2 separate regions of the Homo sapiens genome follow, and region 1 is linked to region 2. The links are contacts of gene promoters, found by promoter capture Hi-C in blood cells and fetal thymus (Javierre and others, 2016). All regions are on one chromosome and are shown on one strand. The core of a region is centred on a gene start or on the middle of the fragment in contact, and the rest is flanking DNA. Distances in the headings are between cores, read along the strand shown.

What was found. Contacts are between HindIII fragments. The CHiCAGO score rates a contact against its expected background, and 5 or more counts as called.
Region 1: a contact is called between a fragment that was not itself captured here and the fragment with the promoter of ZFY in region 2, in 8 of 17 cell types (total B cells, non-activated CD4 T cells, M0 macrophages and 5 more). The highest score is 12.3, in total B cells.

Annotation. Positions count from the first base shown.
Region 1 is chrY:3,104,051-3,107,097 of GRCh38, forward strand. No RefSeq gene overlaps it. Among named protein-coding and RNA genes, the nearest start is that of LINC00278, 100 kb to the left of the region's middle. The HindIII fragment of the contact is 162 bases long and covers 1,598-1,759 here.
Region 2 is chrY:2,933,783-2,936,670 of GRCh38, forward strand. ZFY (zinc finger protein Y-linked) reads left to right here and starts at 1,599. Exons shown (of 8, transcript NM_003411.4): 1 at 1,599-1,987. The HindIII fragment of the contact is 5,223 bases long and covers 1-2,888 here.

The DNA of each region.
Region 1 (3,047 bases), core at 429-2,928, 170 kb after region 2:
CTTTATTTTGTTAAACTGGAGATTGGCAGCTATGACTGAGGACTTGCAAAAGCGGAAACAGGGACTTCTCAGTGAGGTCAATATTTGGAGGAAATATGTATAGAAACTGAAGATCTGTCTGAGTTTACCCCTGAGGTACATTATAGCATACATGAGTTTGAATATTTATTCTTTAATGTACATATTTGGTTATGGAGTTGTTTAAGCATCAGCTGTTTGGAAATTCTGCTTTGCCAAGATATTTCTAACTTGCTTTTTAGAACAGTTGTAACATTTTACATTTCCATAGCTCCCTTGGCTTCACATGATTGAGTAATACTTTAAATCAGATTGTAAATGTATTACGCAGTGGTTTTAATTTCCTGATTAGTAATGAGATTGTAACTGAACTCAGGTTCAGTTGTTTGCCAATTGAAAGCCAAAACTTGAGAGGCAAGCGTTGGTGGAAGAGAAAAGCAGGTTTATTCAGGACCTGACAATCCAAGGAGATGGTGGACTTGCATAGCAAAGACCATCTCAAGTTTCTCAGCCTGGACATAGGGGTTTTAAAGGGGAAAGGGCTTGGGAAACTATGTGCAGGAGTTAGCTATGCATTTCAGAATGTCTTTTTCCAACGACTGTCATGAGGAATGGGCATCAAGAGGTGTAGCTGGCATCATCCAACCTCTAATAAGATTGAAGATTAACTGCTCAGTATTTTTTTTCCATTAAGAACATTTCACAGCCTTGGTTTTATCTTGGGGTTAGTTCTTGGAATTCTTAAGCAAGCACACAATTAGGTATCGTAAAAGAAAGAATAGTTATTTGTTTCCAAAATGGAATGACTGCATCAGTTACAAGATGATCACCTTTATATGTTATTGCTATTCAGATTTTCTCTTCCATAAAATACTTGTTTGCATCTTTTGCCTGCAGTTTAATTGGGTGGTTTGACATTTTGGTTTATATGAATTTCTTAATATGTTATGGACATTAATCCTACACTGGTTTTTTATGTTGCAAAGATCTGCTCTCAGCGTGAAAATTCTTTTTATGGCGTCTTTTGATGATGAAAAGTCCACAATTCAAAATAGATTAACTTATCAATACTTACTAGTTTCTTTTACTTAAGTATGTTATTTCTCTTAAAAATTATCTATATATCAGAAAAATACCTCCATTTATATTCCTGAAAAAATTATTTAAATTTGCCTTTCATATTTAAGTCTCTGATATACTGGAAATTAACTTTTGCATATGTCATGACGGATACACTATTTTGCTTGCTTTATAGTTTCCGGATAAATACTTATCTCAGGGCCACTGACTGACTAGTCTATACTTTTACCTCTATACAATATCTGGTGTTCATATTTTTGCAGGTCTATTTCTTGACTCTCTAACGTGTTTTTAGCTTTCAATCCTTGCACTCACACCATGCAGTGTTAATTGCAATTGTTTGATAGTAAATTTTAATCACTGCTATAGCAAATTTTCGTATCTTATTTCTTCTGGGTTATACTTGGCTCTTTGGCCTTTGGTTCCTTGACTGTACTTCCATTTAAAATTTCAGGATTGACTTCAGTTAAAAATAATCTGTAAGAATTGTTCAAATTTAAGCTTGAATTACCAGAAATATTTCACTTTTTGCATTAAATGCATCTCATGATTATTGATATGTAATATTATTTTATTTTCTTCAATTCTAAAGATCACTTATTCCCCACTGGGATTTTTTATTTAGCATTAATTTATGTAGAAAAGTGTTTTTAAAATTCCAAGCTTATGATATTGTGAGTTATCTTTGTATTATTTAAAAATTAATAACATTGCAGTTAGATATTATTATGTGTATGAAATTAATATTGGAAAACCACTGAGAATTGCTCTATTTCCTATTATATTGTTGATTTTCATGAATGTTTCCTGTTTCTTGAAACTGTATATTCGTCAGTTCTTTGGTATAGTGTTCTATATATACTCATTTGATCATTCTTACTATATGTTACCCAAATATTCTTAATCACAATTTTTACCTGTTTCACCCATCAATTACTGAAAGATATGTTTTTAAATCCTCACTGATGTAGTAACTTTCAGCATATTTTGCACATATACAGATGCTCCTTGATTTATGATAGATTTATGCCCTGATAAACTCATAATAACTCAAAAATTTTGGAAATCACAATGCATTTAATACCCCAGTAAACACATTGTTAGTAAAAAAAAATATTAAGTTGAACTATCATAAGTTCAGCTGTTCCTTGACTTACAATGAGGTCACACCCCAATAAACCCATCACAAATGCAAAAAATCATAAGTTGAACCATAGTTAAGTAGAGGTCATCTGTATATATTTATAACTATATATCAATATAAACATAGATATAAGTATGTGTGTACATGCATGAATGTATATCATACAGATCTGTCAGGTTAGAACTATTATATTAATATCTTCCTGACAAATTGAACCCCATCATCTCTTGTTCACTGGGCCTTGAAATTTATTTTATCTGATTTTAATATAACCAAAGTAGCTCTTTTTTAATTAGTATTTGCCTGCCATATTATTTTGTATTATTTTACTGTAACAATTCCTGTTTTCTTGTGGTTTTGGTAAAACCTCTGAACACTGCATATAGATTTAAAATAATTCTGTAGATCTACTGGCATCATTTTTGTAGATATATGTTAACTTGTTTCTAATTCCAATTTTTTCAATTTTCCTCTTTTTAAAATTTCAGCTTTCATTGAGGAGTATAACACATGTATAGGAAATTGCACAAAATTTATATATATTCTTTTAGGGATAACTTTAAAAGATAAATCTGTGAAACCAGAATCTAGGACAATATATTTTTTTTTTTACGTGAAACCCAGTGAACCACAGTTATTTTATTAGTTGGGTATTTTTTTATGGCCCAGGGTTGCACAAAATTACAAAACAATTTATTTGCTACCCCACCAAATATAAAATAATGGGGCTGGAACAAAATCATGACAATAAAAATTTCCCATTCAGAATAAAGGAGAATGAAAGATTCATAGCAATTATGCAATG
Region 2 (2,888 bases), core at 349-2,848:
ACAGGCGTGTTCCACCACACCCAGCACTTTTCAATTTTTTTGTACAGATGGATCGCCCTATTTTCCAGGCTTGTCTCCAACTATCAGTTGAGCACAAGCTGATTTTATCTCAGCCTTCCAAAGTGTTTTGGAATTACAGGGGTGAGCCGCCTCTCATTTATCATTTTTGAAACAAAAGGTAACGACTTGAGAAAACAAGGTCAAACCAATGGTTTGAAAAGAGAATTGCTATCCAGCACTTAACTCATTATATCAACTATGTACCACTGGTTTTCCTTTCGTAAAGCATTTTATGATTTTTAGGTTTCTCAGTTAAGGACAAGATGATTTCTGAGTTTTAAAAATAGGTATGCTAGAAAACTGAAATACCTGGCCTCTACATTTAGAGATTACCGGCTCTGGCCCACAGGCTGCAGTGCAGTGGCTTGATCACAGCTGTCCGCCTGTATCTGCTGGCCTCAAGCGATACTCCAGCCTTGTCCTCCCAAAGCGCTCAGAGGTGAGCGACCGCGATAGGCATGTTTAACTTTTTAGTAGCAACTTTTAAACACAGTTTGGGTACCTAGTTTAATGGGAAATTAGAGTGCATTAAAACGTAAAGTAATGAAAACGCACAATACACGTTTTTGGAGTTCATCAGTACTATCTGTTTAATCAAATGCATTTTCCTCTCAGTCTCTAAAGCCTTTTTAAACTTTAAGAGGATAAATAATTTTGTAAGAAGACAATCCCAAAACCAATTGTTAGTTTACATTTATTAAAGGGTGTGCATAATTCATTGTTCATGAGACAATTACACAAAACTGACATTTCAAGGATGCCAAAAGATGAAACACTGCCATAAAGAACACACACTAGACATTACAAATCTTGGTCAAAATACCTACGTTAACGCAAAAAAAAAAATCAATTGGCTCAGTAATTGATTAGGATAATCCTCCCCTCCTCTTGCCTGTACACTGTGGCAAGTCCATTTACTTTCTTTTTTTTTTTTTTTAAAGCCAACAAAGGAGACAGTGGGGAATGCTATATGTCTGTATCTGCTTTCCTCCTCAACCCTAGGAATAAAGTAAACACGTTTACTGAGGGCGGGGGTCTAAGGGCCTGCAACAATGAGATCTGTCGCCTTGGCTAGGACTGGCGCCGAGAGGCGATAGGTCTCGGGAGAGCCTGGCGCAGGGTGTGGGAGATTAGGAATCCCAGGTCCACCGGAGATGGCAGGGGGTGGCCTGGCCCGGTGCGGGGCCGCTTGCCTGCACGCAACCAACTAAGGCGGTGGTGCGCAAGTAGTGGTGACGGCGGGCGCGCGGAGAAAAGGAACGTTGTGACGGAAACTCCAGCTGCCGGAGACCCCACCGCAGTGAGGTCACTGGACTCCCCGGACTCGGGGCGTGACCGGCGCCGACCCGGGGCGCCGAGAGGCCCACCGGGCGGAGGGGGCCCAACTACCATCCCGCATTTTCCTGGGTCTCTCTCCCGGGCGGTGACGTGACGTGCTGACGGCGGGCCCGTGCCGGGGAGCTGGGCCGCTTTTTGTCAGCTCCGAACTCGGCCCCTCCTCCCTCCCTCCGCCCGCCCTACCAGCCGGAGCCCGGCCCAGTGCTCCAGAGAAAGGCCGTCCTGCAGCACCCGCCGCTGTCGCCGACCGCCCGCACATCCGTCGGGTGAGTCCCGCGTGCCCCCGCGGCCGCGGGGCCTAGTGCGCGCGCAGTAACCTGTTTGTGGCCTGGTCGGCGTCCCGTAGGGCGCCCTCCCGCGCTAGGCCGGCCGGCGTGGCGCTCGGCGCCGAACAGGCCCCGAGGAGGCCGCAGTTAGGCCTAGTGATTATCCAGTTGCCCTGAGCGGCTGCGGAGGTGCGCTCCATAAGCGGGCAGGGTGGGAAAAGTTCGCCCGTTTGTCCGGAAGGCAGTTGATGGACCTGGGGTCGACACCACTGCGGACGCAGGGCACGGCACGGGGGCGAGAAGGCGAAGGCTGCAGGCGTGAGGTGAAGGCCGGAGGCCTGCTGGGCCTATTTTCGCTATGTAAATGTCCGCGAAGGGGAGGAGGGACGGGGGGGCAAGATGGCGGCTGCTAGGCGCCTGCTGCTGGGGAGTATTGAGAGTGTTGTCGGGAGGCGGAGCCGCCATCTTGAAGGCGGTATCTGGAAAAAAAATTCGGTTATGATCCTTGAGGCGGGGATGGGGAAAAGGACGGCGGCGGCGGCGGCAGCGCAGCCTCCGGCGCGACGGCGTGTCTGCGCAACAGGGCGTGCTCGTTCCCTTGGCGGCCCTTGCCTTTGTCGCCATATGCGCGCGTACGTTCCAGACGCCTGCGGCAGCGCCACCTTTCGGCCTTCCCCTCACAGCCCATCCTTGGCTGGGTGCAGTGTCGGCTACGCTTTAGGTGACATGCCGCAGGCGTCCGTTCGGGCGCCGGGGTCATTTCGCCCCTCAGCGCTCCCGGCTCTGTGCCCTTCCGAGAGTCTACAGCCACCCGTTTCAGCAGGTGGCAATTCGGGCATCTAGGCTCACGAGAGCACATAAATTCCAGAAAATTTTATTTTCCCCTAATTAAAGTCATTATGTGGCTGTTCGGGGACCTTCGATGCGCTTATTTTTCAACCATCATTGCCTCTTCGAGGATCTGCAAAATAGAACTGGAATTTATTATGAAAAAGTTATTAGGCACTCGTCCAATAGACAGTACAGTACAAATTATACAGCACGAGGGCAGAGGAATAAAATTTCCCCAAGGCGACTTTTCCCATTTATGTGGAAACACTTTTTTGATGAGCTGTATTTAAACGAGCGAGCTTTTTTTTAGTCCGTGTACTTTTTTTGAGTAAGAGATGGAAAATAGGCAGAAGAGGTATTTTTCTTTTTGAAAGACAATTCATGCATTACTTG